Regions from separate parts of the Homo sapiens genome. Here regions 1, 2 and 3 are each linked to region 4. Evidence: promoter capture Hi-C in human tissues and cell types (Jung and others, 2019). All regions are on one chromosome and are shown on one strand. Each heading gives the region's core, a stretch centred on a gene start or on the middle of the fragment in contact. The rest is flanking DNA. Distances are from core to core; before and after follow the strand shown. Region 1 has its middle 29 kb from the start of CABCOCO1. Region 2 has its middle 93 kb from the start of NRBF2. Region 3 has its middle 98 kb from the start of LINC02625. Region 4 holds the start of ZNF365 (zinc finger protein 365).

What was found. Contacts are between HindIII fragments. The study calls those that stand out against the background at their distance.
Region 1: a contact is called between a fragment that was not itself captured here and the fragment with the promoter of ZNF365 in region 4, in 1 of the 25 tissues and cell types used here (hippocampus).
Region 2: a contact is called between a fragment that was not itself captured here and the fragment with the promoter of ZNF365 in region 4, in 2 of the 25 tissues and cell types used here (IMR-90 fibroblasts and spleen).
Region 3: a contact is called between a fragment that was not itself captured here and the fragment with the promoter of ZNF365 in region 4, in 1 of the 25 tissues and cell types used here (spleen).

What each region holds. Positions count from the first base shown.
Region 1 is chr10:61,631,938-61,635,993 of GRCh38, forward strand. No RefSeq gene overlaps it. Among named protein-coding and RNA genes, the nearest start is that of CABCOCO1, 29 kb to the right of the region's middle. The HindIII fragment of the contact is 7,774 bases long and covers 1-4,056 here.
Region 2 is chr10:63,038,273-63,042,623 of GRCh38, forward strand. No RefSeq gene overlaps it. Among named protein-coding and RNA genes, the nearest start is that of NRBF2, 93 kb to the right of the region's middle. The HindIII fragment of the contact is 5,835 bases long and covers 154-4,351 here.
Region 3 is chr10:61,767,870-61,771,947 of GRCh38, forward strand. No RefSeq gene overlaps it. Among named protein-coding and RNA genes, the nearest start is that of LINC02625, 98 kb to the right of the region's middle. The HindIII fragment of the contact is 4,332 bases long and covers 1-3,560 here.
Region 4 is chr10:62,371,851-62,375,987 of GRCh38, forward strand. It overlaps ZNF365 (zinc finger protein 365), which reads left to right and starts at 2,519. Exons shown (of 5, transcript NM_014951.3): 1 at 2,519-2,608. LOC283045 (a long non-coding RNA gene) reads right to left here and starts at 3,277. Exons shown (of 4, transcript NR_104162.1): 1 at 3,021-3,277. The HindIII fragment of the contact is 5,251 bases long and covers 1-4,137 here.

The DNA of each region.
Region 1 (4,056 bases), core at 933-3,432, 740 kb before region 4:
GCGCGATGGCTCACACCTGTAATCCCAGCATTTTGGAAGGCCAAGGCAGGGAGATCACTTGAGGTCAGGAGTTTGAGACCAGCCTGGCCAACATGATGAAACCCTGTCTCTACTAAAAAAATAAAAATAAAAATAAATACAAAAATTAGCGGGCGTGGTGGCATGTGCCTGTAGTCCCAGCTACTAGGGAGGCTGAGGCAGGAGAATCTCTTGAACCCAGGAGGCAGAGGTTGCAGTGAGCTGAGATCGAGCCACTGCACTCCAGCCTGGGCGACAGAGAGAGAGTCCATCTCAGAAATAAATAAATAAATAAATAAATAAATAAATAAATAAATAAATAAATAAAGTTGAACCAGTTACTGTCCTAAACTGTTAGATGTATGCTGGCATCCCTGCCCTTCCTTTCTTACCTTTGGCTGCCTCTGGCTATTTTCCCTGCTTATAGGCAGCCTCTTTCTTAGCTCAGTGCAGTACAAGTGTTAAATGCCTCATTAGCACTTTTTTTTTTTTTTTTTAGTGACTCAGAACAGTAGATGCCCTCAGGTGGCTCCTAAGACCAAAGGCACAGCTCAGGCTGTGGCAATAGAGCAGGAGCCTATGTGGACTCTGGACTCTCACATTTGTGCAAAACCCAAGAAGACTGCCACTTTCCTTCTGTCCTAGCTCTTCCAAAAGCCTTCATTTGGGGCTTTACCCAGCTTCCAAGTTGTACAACCTACCTTTTTTTTTTTAACTTTTCAAGGCCAAAATATATTCTGTACGCACTGTTTAAAATAAATTACAGCTTTAAACATTCAACGGAGTATCTCTGTAGCTTTCTAGTTGTTCAAAATAAAATTAAGTAGACATGCAAAAATAAAAGGGATTTTAAGGGAAAAAAATACTCATTGCTGTAATTTGTCTCCTAAATAATGACAATAGATGAGCTATAGCCTCTTTTGTCTGAAATTTCAGCTGTCTTTGTTTACTTCATGACACAGGGCCCAAGACCTACATTATTGCATTAAGTTTGCAAAGCTATCAAGATGCCCTTGAGTAAGATTCATCATCTTGTCCTAAATTCTCCACACGCTCCACTAAAAGCCTAGTGGCAGACTGAAGGGATTGTCAGAAAGCATAAAAGACAAAATAAAAATTTTATGCTCTTTTAGGCAAGTGAAGATTTACCCTGTAGCAATTTCTGATATTAACTCATTAATCCTCACAACCTATCTTGAGGATAGATTTTAGAAAGGAACAGCCCTTGTCATCTTACTTGCCTTCAAAACTTGTACCAAACAGAGAGCTGGTTCTTTCCTTGGTCTTGGTCTGAACATCTCTGCAGAGCCCAGGAGGAGTGGGAGAGAGGGACAGATGGAATTCAGAAGCACCTCTCTGACTCCCTTCTTCTCTTATTACCAGGACAGGTCATCATGTGGAACCCCATGCTGGGTCTAAAACTTTTGGTCGCCATCTTGAAATCCTTAATGAATGGTGATCAAGGACTCCTGCATTTCCATTTTTCACTGGGCCCCACAAATTAGTAGCCAGTCCTGCTGTCACTCATCCCAGAATAAAAGATATCAGTAGTATAGCATGTGGGCCAACACATGTTCCCTTGATCTCCACACTGATGGTAACAATATAGTAGCAAAGTCCATATTTCTCATTAGTACTGTAGTTTTTCTCTGCTTGTACAAAATTGAATTGGGCTATGTGCTTAGAATTTTATCTAAAACATAAGACAAGATATCAGTTTGCCTTCTTAAGTCTATTTATGTTACATTTACTTCATGTTTTCTTGGTTTGCAGTCCTGATTAATTTACCTTATAGTGTGTTTAATTATTGCCATATAATCCCATAACTTCTTTGCATGTGGCATCTCAACAATGTGCAACTTCTAATAGTCAGCATGAAATCATAACTTAGAAAAACATTGCTGAGCTAATTACAGGGACAATCAAAATAAATCCAAATCTTTTCTGGGCCACAGTCCATATCTGAATCATAATAAGTGTGAAATGTTTACAAATCATTACAAATTTTCCACATAGTTTTGCTCAGCGTTAGGACCAGTCGTGTTTTTTCAGTCATTTGAGTCGATGTTTCAGATCTCTCCAGTGAGAACACTGATTTTAGAAAACACTCAGCTTATTAGCAATTATAAAAATCAAAAGACAGATGTAAAATCAACTCTAAAATCTAGAATGTAAGAAACATCTTCATGGAATTATTTGTGTACCAGCATAAACATGATATATTATGTATTTTTAAAAAATAACACTTCACTGAAGTTATAAAGGCAAAAAAATGGAAGGAAACTAGCCAGGCACTTTAACTACTTTGTGTATTCCAGTGAATTCACATATTAAGAAAACTTTATTTAGAAGCCTAAAAATTGTACAATAATGAAGTAGTTTGTGTATGACAAAAATAACCGGGAATCATTTAATAAGTACTTGCCCATTATTGCTTTTATAACATTGGAATTGAGCTGCTAGCTCTGCATAATTTTAAGACTGACTTTTCATTAATTTATATAAGACTCATTGTACCTACTATGTGTAAGGCATTAGAAGAATCCATTGATGCTACATTTTTCTTACTCCTTCTTAGGTTCTTATTCCTGTTAGATTAAACTACTAGAAATATATTTTGGGGAACATTGAACTCAGGTCTTTCAAATCACATCTTTGCCAGTAAGAAGCCAGATATTAAATTTTAAAATTCAAGGAAGGCGGGCTGCATTTTGCATTCTGATAAAAAATGGTTTATATTTACTTAGGTCTAAAAATGAGCTGTAGGGAGTACATGAACCCCCAAAACGCTATACAAAATTTGGGGTGGAAAAGCAGTTTTCTGGTATGAGTATTTGTGTCTTTCATCTGACTCAAAAAAATCCATGGCTCCAAGTACTAACAGACTGTCCAAAATACTGCATTCTTCTAGGGAACTCAGTCACTATCATGAGACTCATTGGTGCACTCAAAAACCACAAAGTCCAAAATAATTTTGTATTCTGAAAGTTCTCTGAGAGTTTACGGTTGCATCACTTTGTTGTACTTGGTATCATTTGGTTCTGTGATTATTTTCCTGTCAGTGAGGTATATATTCTCCATGGGGATGCAAACCACTTTGGAGCCATAATTATTTTTAGTCTACTGCAGCTTGGATAAACACTGTATCCTCAGACATTTGTGAAGTATCATCTGTAAATGCTTGAAGGATGCCAGAATTGAGAGCATACATTTCCTTGATAGCAACAAAAAAATAATTTCCAACTTGACTAATATTTTGTTAAATAATATGTGGGAAAATAAGAAGGATTACATGTTGATAATGCTGTAATTTGCTAAAAGTAGAAAATGTGGTTTTGGCCAAAATGATTCCAATGAATCCATTACAGTCTCATTTCTATCTTGCTTAATAAGACTTTTTTCTGAAGATGAAAATTCAGTTACATGATAATACAAAATAATGCCAGTAATTTGTCTTTGGTTTCAAAGCTTCAAATACCACACTCCAGATTCAGAATTGCTCAGAATGTGCTATATTTATTATAATTAATCTAGACCTCCTGTCCAAGAATAGCAAACTCTTCTGTGGGTCACTGCTTTGGGAAGAGATTGAGAAAGTTTGAGTACAAATAGATGTAATTCTTTAAATACCTCCATGCTAATATACTATGTTCATAATGACTTTTAATCAGTGTACAGGAAAATAATTCGATGTTATATAAAATAGAGAGCTGAGGTCACATCTAACACGAGACCTCAAATTTGGAACACACCAGTAGCTTTGGGAATATGTAGTGCATATTTTGGCCTACTTTTATCCATTGTCCTTCTCTCTGAGTAAGCATTCCCTAATCTCCTTTTGTGTGTCCTTGCTTCTCCAACATAGTATTTAGCACAGGAAAAGCTGACTCTATTCTCCACACCAGAAATGGATTCTGGCTAACCAATTAACACATTCAATCTCTGACATAACAACCAGATCCTAGTGGGGGTCAATGAAACACAAGAAGATCTTTGCTGAGAGTTTCTTTAAAAAATAAATTTCTATACTCTTCTTTG
Region 2 (4,351 bases), core at 1,821-4,320, 670 kb after region 4:
TGTAAAAGCTATACAAAGAGAAGGCTGGGCGCGGTGGCTCACGCCTGTAATCCCAGCACTTTGGGAGGTCGAAGCAGGTGGATCACGAGGTCAGGAGATCAAGATCATCCTGGCTAACACGGTGAAACCCCATCTCTACTATAAATACAAAAAATTAGCCAGGCTTGGTGACAGGTGGCTGTAGTCCCAGCTACTCAGGAGAATGAGTGAATGAGGCAGGAGAATGGCGTGAACCCAGGAGCCAGAGCTTGCAGTGACTGGAGATCGTGCCACTGCACTCCAGCCTGGGCAACAGAGTGAGACTCTGTCTCAAAAAAAAAGAAAAAGCTATACAAAGAGATAAACTTAAGTTTTAAAAAAAAGACAGTAGCTCAATTAAAATGGAAATCTTAAGGATATTCACATAACCCATGTGAAGGCAGGAAAAAGGAAACAGACAAATGAAAAACAGAGAGAAGCTGGGCACAGTGACTCATGCCTTTAATCCCAGCACTTTGGGAGGCTGAGGCGGGCGGACCACTTGAGATCAGGAGGTCGAGACCAGCCTGGCCAACATGACAAAACTCTGTCTCTACTAAAAATACAATAATTAGCCAGGCATAGTGGCACATGCCTGTAATCCCAGCTGCTTGGAAGGCTGAGGCAGGAGAATCGCTTGAACCTGGGAAGTGGAGGTTTCAGTGAGCCAAGGTTGCACCAATGCACTCCAGCCTGGTCAACAGAGCAAGACTCTGTCTCAAAAAAAAAGAAAAGAAAGAAAAACAGAAAGAACAAATAAGAAAACAAAAAATAGAATGACAAACTGAAGCCCTAATACATCAATAATTACATTAAATGTAAATGGTCTAAATATACCAATTAAAAGACAGATATTGGCAGAATGATTTTTAAAACATGACCCAATCCTATGCTGTCTATAAGAAACTCACTTCAAACATAACAATATAGAAAGATTGAAACTAAAAAGATGGAAAAATATATACCATGCAAACACTAATTTAAGGAAAATAGGACTGACTATATTAATTTCAGATAAAGTAGACTTCAGAGCAAAAAAAAAAAAAACTGGTTACTAGAGACAGAAGGGGACATTATATAATGATGAAAAAGATTAATCCCCAAAAAGACATAGCAATCCTAAATCTAAATGCATCAAACAACAGACTCCAAAGAAGCAAAAACTGATAGAACTGAAGTAACAGACAAATCCATGATTATAACTAGCAGGTACAACACACCTCTCCCAAAATTTGATAGGACAACTAGACAAAAAGTGAGCAAGAATATATTTTAAAAAAATCAACAACATAGGCCAGGTGCAGTGGCTCACACCTATAATCCAAGCACTTTGGGAGGCAGAAGCAGGCAGATCTCTTGATGCCAGGAGCTCAAGACCAGCCTGGCCAACATGGTGAAACCCCGTCTCTACTAGAAGTATAAAAATTAGCTAGGTATGGTGCCGCACACCTGTAATCCCAGCTACTCAGGTTGCTGAGGGATGAGAATTGCTTGAACCTGGGAGGTGGAGGTTGCAGTGAGCCAAGATTGTGCCACTGCACTCCAGCCTGGGTGACACGTGAGACTCTGTCTCTAAAAGAAAAAAGGAAAGTTGCAAAATCAACATCAACCAACAAGATCTAAACATTATAGAGCACATTATAGCAGAATACGAATACTTTTCAAGTGCTCACAGAACATATACCATAAGATAGCCCTTATCCTGGGCCATAAAACAAACCTCCAAACATTTAAAAGAATTGCAATCATACAGTGTGCTCTCTGACAATAATGGAATCAAACTAGAAATCAGTAACAGAATGATAAAAGGAAAACTTGCAAACACTTAAAAACCAAACAACACACTTTTAAAAAAGACATGAGGTCAAAGAGGATCAAAGAGGAGGTTCAGGGGAATTTTTTTTAAGTATATTGAAATGAATGAAAATGAGAATACAGCATATGAAAATTTGCGCTAAAGCAGTGTTAAGAGAGAAATTTATTTAATGTATGCACTAAATGCATACATTTAAGAAGACAGAAACATTACAAATCAATAATCTAAGCTCCCAACTCAAAAACTTAGAGTAAGTAGAGCAAAATAAACCCAAAGCAAACAGAAAAAAGAAAATAATAAAGATTTATCAAGCGGAGTCCCATGGATGGAAAAAAAAAGATTTAAATTGTTTTTAAAAAAAGAAAATAATAAAGATAAAAGAAGAAATTAATGAAATGGAAAGCAGAAAAACAAGAGAAAATTGATTTTAAAAATAACTGGTTAATTGAAAAAAGCTGTAAAATCTCTAGCAAGATTAACAAAGAATAAAAGAGGACAGAAATTGCTAACTTAGGAAGTAAACAGAGTATATCACTAAAGACTACGCAGAAATCAAAGGAGTAATAAGGGAATATTAAGAATAACACTATACACATATATTTGACAACTTAGACCAAAAAATGATTTGTTTTTTTTTTTTTTTTTTGAGGTCTCACTCTGCCACCCAGGCTGGAGTGCAGTCGTGCAAACATAATTCACTGCAGCCTTGAACTCCCAGGCTCAAGTGATCCTCCCTCCTCAGTCTCCCAAATAGCTGAGACTACAACCGTGGACCACCATACCTGGCTAATTTTTGTATTTTTTTTGTAGAGACAGGGTCTCTCCATATTGCCCAGGCTTGTCTCAAACTCCTGGGCTCAAGCAATCCACCAACCTCAGCCTCCCAAAGTGCTGGGATTACAGGCATGAGCCACCACACTCTGCCAAAATGGACCTTTTTTTTTTTTTTCAATTAAAGACACTACAAATCGCTCAATATGAAATAGATGATATGAATAGCCGTATAACTATTAAGAAAGTTTAATTCATAATTTTAAAACTCCCAAAAAAGAAATATCCAGACACAGATGGTTTCACTGGAAATTCCAATCTTGTGCATCCCCAAGAGAAACGAAAATTTATTTTCACACAAAAACCTGTACATGAATGTTTATAGCAGGTTTATCCATAATAGCCAAAACTGGAAACAACTCAGCTGTCTTTAACGAATAAATGGTTAAACAAACTGCAGTATATTCATATCATGGAATACTTCTCAGCAATTTGAAGAAACCAACTACGGATGCACACAATATTTTGAATGAATATCCAGAGAATTATATTCAGTGAAAAAGAAGCCAAACCAAAATGTTACATACTATATTATTTCATTTATGTAACATTCTTCAAAAGACAATACTTTAGAAATAGAGAAAAAATAGTAATTGCCAGGGGTTAGGGATACGGAGGGAGTAGGAGGGAAGTGGGTGTATCTATAAAATAACAACATGAAAGATTCCTGTGGTGATAGAAATGTTCGGTATCTTGACTGTATTAATATCAGTATCTTTGTTGTGATTATTGTACTATGGTTTTGCAAGACAGTACCATTGGGAAAAACTGGGTAAAATTTACACAGAATCTCTGTATTATTTCTTATAATTGCCTGTAAATCTGTCTAAAATTGTCTCAAAATGAAAAGGTTAATTTGTTTAAATGTACATAACTTATAATTCCACTTACATGAAGCTTTAGAATAGGTAAAATTAGCCTATGGTGATATAAATCACATCAATTATTGTGGATGGGAGAGATTAATGGACTGGGAAGAGGCACAAGGGAACTTTCTGTTTTTCAGGAAAAACAAATGAATATTGGTAATAACAATTTATTTATGAGCTTTGTGGCATTTTATCTTTCCCTAGACCCATCCCTCACTCCCCAGTTAAGCAATATCCTTAAGAATAATATACCATATACTTGGTAATATAAAGAACAGACAGACCTCACTTGAAAAGAATTCTCTTTATTCGATCTGTCTGATGGCTTCCTGAAAGACCCACTCAAAAGGCTTATCTTTATTTTGCCTAATTTGGTAACTAAATGCTAAATCCACTACCCAAAGGCCATTTGTCAAAAATATTTCCAGGCAAATATTTTAGTTGCTGCTGCCTGAGACAATGGATAACATTTGTAGCAAACCACACACTAACCAAAATCTTGAGAAGAAAGGCAGGGGAATGAGATTTACGTATGGGCTTTGATTACTCCTGGAAATCTAAAAGGCCACATGCCACTCAGGGCAATGTACATACTCAGCAAAGACCAGAGAAAGCCCTAAGACCTTATCTCTGAATGACGTCATGGCTCTGCGCAAGCAGGAAGTGAAGGCAAATGCAGAGTTATCAATTGCCTGGCTGAGTGTTGGAAGGCATGCCCCAAAACATACACGTGGCCCTTCCACAAAGTCTGGAAGATTTTTAAATTCCATGCCTCTAAGGCAACTGTTCTCTCATTAGCTGACCACTAAGCTAATAG
Region 3 (4,078 bases), core at 145-2,644, 610 kb before region 4:
TGGTGGAGGAGCCCAGGGATCTCTCTGGCAACCCAACTTTCAGATATGATAATAGGAGCAAGAGCAACCACAACTTTCAAAAGTATTTTTTGCCCATTCGAACAATTGGATACATGCATAAGTGGTCTTTTTTTACACAATTAATATTGCTGTTTACATTCCTTTTTCATCAAGTAATATATCTGAGAGATAATTCCCTATCAGTACATTTTAACAACCATGTAATATTTATCAGTTTCACGATTTTTTGATGGGTCCTCCTGCTGAACTTTTTTGTTTCCAGCAGTTTGTTATCACCATGCTGTATCGCCACCCTTGCGCACACATCTTTGTGAATGTGTATAATTATACCTGTAGGTCAAAACTCTAGAAGCGGAATTCCTAGGTCCAGTTGTATGTGCGTTCCAATATTCTTAGATATTGTCAAAGATATTTCACCATTTTGTATGCCCACCAACAGTGTATAAGAATACCTCTTTCTCTACATTTTACCAACAACGTACATTAGTCAATTTTTTGTCTTTGATATTCTGATAGAAAATAATGTCATGCTACTGCTTTAATTTGCTTTTATTGTTTTACTCCACATGGGTTGAACACCTTTTCATATGTTTATAAGAAAATATATATATATATTCATGTAACATATATAATGTGTGATGATAATATATATATTATGGTTATTAGGAAGACTATATTCATTTAGTCTTCCTAATAACCGAGAGAGAGAGAGAGACAGAGAGAGAGAGAGAGATGATAGGTAGATACTATTAGCCTTTAATAGTTAGCCTCATTTTATAGTTATGGAGCCTGAAGCTTAGAGGGATTATTAACCTAAACCAAGTTACACATTTAATAATTGGTGGGACGGGGCTTCCAAACCAAGTCTGACCTATTTTACAGATGACGAAACTGGAATACAGAGAAAGTTTAGGTAACTCTCCATGATCGTACTGCCAGTAGGTGGTAGAATTAACTTTGGAACTTGGGCCTGTACGATCACAAAACCCACGTGCTTAACCTTTATCTTCATCTGGCCATCTCATAGTTGACATGAAATCAAGGGAAAGCTAACCTTTCCTTTTCCTTATTATATAATAATATTATTAGAATAAGCAAGTTTGTTGTTGTTCCCTTATTACTATAGTAAGGGAACAAACTTGCTTATGCTAATGAGTGTATTAAGTTTTTGGAAAATGTATCCAAGGATAGAATACATAACTCATTTCCATTCATCTATTCATGTATTATGTATTTGTTGAGCACCTTCTATGTGCCTGGGCATTTAGTGGTGAGCCAAATAGACATGGTATCTGCCCTAATAATTTAGTGGGGGCAGTTAATAGTAACTGTGGTAAAGACAAGCTCAGGGAGTTAGGAGAATATAAGGCAAAGGAGCTTGGTGGCATCTAAGAGGTCAGAGAAGCTTCCTATGGGTAACTTCAGGGCTGGGCCCAAGAAGTAAAATTTAACCAGAGGGAAGGTGAAGGAAGATGTGTTTCTGACAGAAGGAGGCATGTGCCAAGTCCTTGGGACACAAGCTGAAGCTGAACAATTGTCCAGAGCCAACGTTGTTGTGGGGTTGTGGACCATATTACAGATTTTTATTTTTATTTTTTATTTTTATTTTTATTTTATTTATTTATTTATTTATTTCGAGACGGAGTCTCGCTGTCGCCCAGGCTGGAGTGCAGTGGCGCCATCTCGGCTCACTGCAAGCTCTGCCTCCCTGGTTCACGTCATTCTCCTGCCTCAGCATCCTGAGTAGCTGGGACTACAGGCGCCCGCCACCATGCCCAGCTAATTTTTTTGTATTTTTAGTAGAGACGGGGTTTCACGGTGTTAGCCAGGATGGTCTCGATCTCCTGACCTCGTGATCCGCCCGCCTCAGCCTCCCAAAGTGCTGGGATTACAGGCGTGAGCCACCGCACCTGGGCACAGATTTTTATTTTTAACTTAAAAACAATGACTCATTGTTGACAAACGTTACGTAGCAAGTGACATCAGATTTATGTTTTTAAAAAGGTCATCTCTCTAGTACCAAGACTTCTATCTATGGAGACCTGGAAAAGGGAATATTCTTATAAAAAGAGTCCTACTGCTAATGATGTCATAGCACCACTTCATAGCAGTTTCTAAGAGAGGGAGAAATAAAGAAAATGTTTGACTTTTTTAAAGTGACAGAGTCCACCTACTCTAAGTAGTCTTTGGCATAACGGTTGCCCTCTGAAGAGCCAATTTAAAAATAATACCAACCTATCACTTAGGAGAAGCTTTACTGTCATCATCCACAATAAAGTATGTTTCTTCCATTTGCAGGAATAATTTGGAAAACTTTTTGCATAGATCCCATGATAAGTTTCAAAGAGCAAATATATTCATTATGTTATAAACAAGCCACAGACTACCACTATTTCAGGTATTTGCAGGCACTATTGTGCCTTAATATAACTGTGGAGTCATTTTTCCAAAATCTGAATATAAAGCCTCTATTTCTATCCTTCATTTGATTGGAACCATTCAATCATCCTGGTAGATAATAAGTTTGCATGTTCTTAGATTGCATTTCATTATGCTTCCGTTCCCCTAGAAAATAAATGTGCTCCTTTTCCCAACAATTGTAGAGGAGAAATACTTCTGACATCTCAAATTTCAGCCTCTGGAAGACGTCCCTCTTCTGGACATGAAAGTCATTTGTTTCCTGGACATTCATCTGTTAAATAAGAGAAGTCAAGACCCCCTCATGACAGCCATAATACCTATTAATTTAAGTTTCCAAAGAAAGATGAATCCAGATCAAAATAATTCCATCCAGATCAAAGTAATTCCAAACCAAAGAGAGAATACTAAAAATTCCTTTCGCTTTCAGGATGACTTTCCTTTTCACAGAAGAACCTGCAGTGAAGAAGATTGGTTTATCGTATTTTATTTGTCAGAGCTGCCAAAGTGTTTTATGTTAATATAATTTTTAGCTTCAGAGAATGTTCATTGAAAATGTCTTCGATGGTCATTTTGGTGTTTGTTTCTTCCTTTTAATCTAGCTTGTAATTTATTCTGGGCGTTCTAAGTACCAGAATGAAAGAAGACAATTAAGGTCCTTGACTTGAGGGAGTCCATGGAATTAATGACGTTTATAATCTAGAGACAGATGACACACAAGTGAATATTCTTTTTCAAAAGAACATGCAGAATTATAACCACAAAATGCTTAGAAGGATAATCCTCAAACCCAGATAAACCCACCTATTGAAATAATTTTGGTCCAAATCTTCTTTGCAGAATTCCAAATAAATTATATGGATACTCCACTCAAAGGAGGAGGAGTATAACTCCACTGATGTATGGGCTGTACATACAGACTTCCAAAGAATATAGTATGGAAAAAGTAATGCTTTCATAGTTGAGAAACCTGACAAACACTGCTTCAGCCAGGTGATCAAGGTCAACATCAACAGTCAATAAATCATGTTAATGCATGTACCCTTGATATGAGGTGAAAATGGTGAAGATCTCTGCGATCTTCATGCCAAAAACTTAAAACCCCAGTCTAATCGTGATGAAAACATCAGGCAAATTCCAGTGAAGGAACAGTCTATACCTGATTAGTACTCCTCAAAACTGCCAAAATCATCAAAACAAGGAAAGTGTAAGAAAATGTCACAGCAAAGAGGAGCGTAAAGAGAATGACAACAATTGTAGTAAGGTATCCTGGATGGGATTCTGGAACAGAAAAGGGAAATCTTAAAAAATATGAATAAACTATGAAACTCAATTAATAAAAATGTGTCAATAGTAGTTCATCAGTTGCACCAAATGTACTATACTAATGTAAGATTAATAATAATACTAACAGGAAACTGTGTGCAGTGGTGGAGTGGGGACTGTATAGGGGAATTCTGTACTATCTGCTCAATTATTCTACAAATCTACAACTTTTCTAAAAAAATCTAAAACTGTTTTAAAAGAATAAAATCTATTAATTTTTAAAAAAGAATATTAGTCAAAACAAAATTAATTAGAAGAAAAAATGCCCACAGTCAGATGTCACTATTAATAAAATGATACCCCCTTGTAAATG
Region 4 (4,137 bases), core at 1,269-3,768:
ACAGACAACTACATCCATAACCCAGCACATAGAATTATTGTGACAAATCCTGTCATAATAAATTTTCCTAGTACGCACTAACCTTGTCCAGGAGTGTCAGGGAAGACCTCCTCAGAGAGGGCATACTTGGGATGAGCTCTGAGGGATGAGTAGGCATTACCAGATAAAGAGGCCCTAGAGACGGGAAAAAGCAGGGCTCTTAAGTAAAGGGATGCCAAGGTGGCTAGAACTGAGTGTACAAGGTCCTCCCTACCTCACAGGTGTTCAAAGATTAAATGAGGTAATTGGTGGTATACACAAGTGACACTTTGAGAACCACTTAAGGTCCTAAATGCCTGTTGACCAAGTTGAATTTCCCACAATACTCAGCTTTAGGCCCTGCACAGAATAACCTCTCCATAATTATTTGATAATATTTTATATTTTTAGGGTGAGAAAAGGACTTTGAAAATCTCCATCCTCTCATTTAACAGGGGAGGAACTTAGGACCAAAAAAGAAGTAGCAGCTGTCTAAGAAATGGGAGGAGCTGGCTGGGCGCGGTAGCTCACGCCTGTGATCCCAGCACTTTGGGAGGCCGAGGCCGGTAGATCACCTGAGGTCAGGAGTTCAAGACCAGCCTGGCCAACACGGCAAAACCCCGTCTCTACTGAAAATACAAAAATTGGCCGGGTGGTGGCAGGGACCTGTAATCCCAGCTACTAGGGAGGCTGAGGCAGGAGAATCGCTTGAACCCAAGAGGCAGAGGTTGCAGTGAGCTGATATCGCGCCACTACAGCCTGGGAGACAGAGTGAGACTCCGTCTCAAAAAAAAAAAAAAAAAAAAAAAAGGGGCGGGGGGGAAGGGAGGACCAGAGCATGCTTTTGTTATGTTTTGCCATGAAGGCAGTGGGTGTAAGAGGTTAACCTGCAGGCACCTCACAAGATGACGGAGATAACTTGGCACTCCAATGAGTGTATCTTTCAGACTTTAAGATTTTGTACTAAATAAATTGATTCTTGGAATAGTCTTGAGAGCGAGTCAAAAAGTAACTTCAATGAGATATAATATTTTCAAAGCAAACACACCCCAGCACAATAGCCTATCTCCATTTACGTAGAAGTTAGTACATATTAATTCCTCTTCTCCTTCCTGCTTTTTAAATGTGTGTAGGCCCCTTTTTTATGGAATTAATAATAATTATAAATGAAGTAGCAACAACGATAACAGCTGACTTTATCAGTGTGTGTCCCTGTCAGGCAGGGTTTTTACCTCCATCATCATAGCACATTCGATCCACCGCTATATTAAGAGGTAGGTCTTGATTATCTTCATTTCATAGATGAGGAATTGAAGGAACAGAAAAGTCTAGTTACTTGACCCAGGCCCTAGAACCAGGATTTGAATCAAGTCTGATGCCAGAGCTTGGGATCTTCATTGCATTTGATGTGATAATTCATTTGTGAAAAAACAAAGCAATTCATTTGTTTTCATTTGTCAAAAACAAAACAAAATTTCAACTAAGATAACTGTTGAGCTCTTTACCGTTAAAATAAAATCGGGTGTTGAAATGAGTAACAGCAAGCCTTGAGAAAAGACACCCTGAGAAGTCAAGAGGATGCATTAACTGTCTACAGATGAACAGAATCTCTTCTCTTCTTTGAACAAGAAAACCCAGCAGTAACTTTTATCTAGGTTTCACATTTCAGGAGTTACAGTAGGGGTAAACCAAAACAGGTTAAAAAAAAAAAAAAAAAAAAAAAAAAGCAAAAGCCCAGCAAGCTGAGACATCAGAGTCCTTCAGAAGGAATGATTTGCCGTCTTCTCTTCAGGACATCCCCTCTTTAGGAGGACAAATTTTTTCTCCAGGGAAAGGGGCGTCCGCCTCAGAAATGGGGGTGTAGGTGAGGGATCTTGTTGCTTTAACTGTTTGTTCATTAATCCCTGCACTTTACTAGATTTAGTTCTGCCTGTTAACGTAGCCTCAGGACACTTGGCTAGGAAGGCTGGAGTGTACTCTCTGGGTTAGTTATTTTGGGACATTCTCGCCCTGCTGCTTGGGATGAAGAGGTCCTAATTAAATACCCGGACCTTCCAACGGGTAGATTTTCAAAGAAGATGCCCAGCTATGCTGCATCCTCATCCACACTCTCCCGCTCCCCCCAAACTAGTGCAAAAAAGCTTGCCAGGGCCTGCAGAAAGCGCCGCGACTGCGAGGCTGACACGCGTCTTTCCTTCCCTCCCCCGGGGAATGATCCCAGCATCTCTCGCAGTGATGTCAGTGTAATCCTGAGTCGGATCGGGCTCCCGGCTGGGTGGCGGGGGGGCAGATGATGCTCCCGCCAGCTGGGCAGAGCAAGGGTGTTCCCCGCGGAGGTGGCAGCCCTGGGCCGCGGCGTTCCGGAACCCCCGCACCCACGGCGCGGTGCCCCACGGTGCCCGCGAGCGCCGCCCCCGCTGGCTAGCCGCGCCTCGCTCCGCCCTGGACGCCGCCGGTCCCGGCGCGGAGGTGCGGCGGGGAGTGGGAGCCGGCCCGGCTCAGTCTGATTTACGGCTCTGCTGAAAACCGCTTCGCTCCCGCAGCATCAGCACCGGAGGCGGCGGCTGCAGCAGCAGCAGCAACAAGTCGGGTAAGAGGCGGCCGCCGGCCATCTGCGCCCGCGGCTCGGCGGAGGGGACCTGCCGGGGTGGCCGGGGCTGGGGAGGGGGTCCCCGAGCCCGCAGCATGGCGGGGAGTTGGGAGAGCCGGCTTCCCGGCCCCCACCAGCAGGAACTCATGTGCACACGAATCCACTCTGGCACCCGTGGGCTGGCACGCAGCGGAGAGGGGGCGGGGAGAGCTGGGACCCCGGGGCAGGGTCATTGCCAGCCTGCCCTTCTCTGGCAGAGTCACTTAGGGCTCTTCATCAGCCCAGTGGACTGGGTTTCCTCTGGGCCCATAAAAGCCTGCGTGCTCTGGAGTGTGTGATTACCCATTTCCCCATCCAAAATGCCACCCTTTTCCCATTGCCCCCTTAGAATCCTGACTTCCCCTTTCCTTACCTCTTGTCAGCGTCTTTGGCCCTATGCTGAGCCAGGGTTTGCATCTCGTTCCCAGAAAACCAGTGGTTAAACATCCCGGTGTACCCATCACAGGAAGAGGTTCCCCTCTCTGGGGGCCGGGGGCTTCACCTAGAAGCCTTGCCTGCCTCGCTGCCTGGGGACCATTTGCACCTCTGCTTTTGAAGAGGTTGAGGACACTTTTCACCCAAAGACCCCAGCTGGGCTCCCTCATTTCGGGTCCAATGCTTGTTACATTTAAGTAGAAACCTTTCATGGAGGAATAGAAGATATGCACTGCTTGCAGAATTGGGTTGCCAACAGTCATCTGTTGCTAGGGTGAAGATAATGCATTCCTACAAGGAAACCAGAACTTCCTGTTATTAAGAGAGTATGCTGATACCTACCTGGTTCACACACTGACCATCCCTAGAGGTTGTCATATAAAATAGCATCTGAGACAAGACAAATCCGTCCAGAACACTCTATTATAATAAAAATCTTGGCCATGGCCCCACTTATGCCAAATGGTATTTGACACATTGGGTCCCCAGGTTTCAGTGAAACTCACGTATGGGGTCTGTTATTGTTACGATTAGCACTTTGGTTTATGTCATCACAGCAATACCTGAAGGAAAAAAAGGCAAAAATTTCAGGGTGAAAAATTTTCAGCTGATTGCAGGCTTAATGCCACTGTGCATAGCTTGAGTAATCTTTCCTGTACTTGAGGATAGGTCCTGAGCTTGCTGTCTTAGGACCCATTTTGACAATTCATGTGAGTTTTCATATGTTCTTGTGTTCACGCATCTCGGATTGTATCCTTAAAATGGGGCACGGTTTTGCATTTAGTGTGCCAAATTCAGGAGGGGAGGAAACTTGAATTCCACTTCTGGATCTACCACTTTCCATCTGACCTTGGATTAATGGCTTTACTTCCTTGCTTCAGTGTTCTCTTCTGTGGAGAGGGAATGTTACCCACCTTTTTGATTCTAGGTAGGAGTTGGCAAACTTTTTCTGTAAAGGTAGTAAATATTTTAGCTTTTAGGAGCATAGAGTCTCTGTCTCAGTTACTCACCACTGCCATTGTGGTTTACAATAAATAATACAGAAATTGATACGG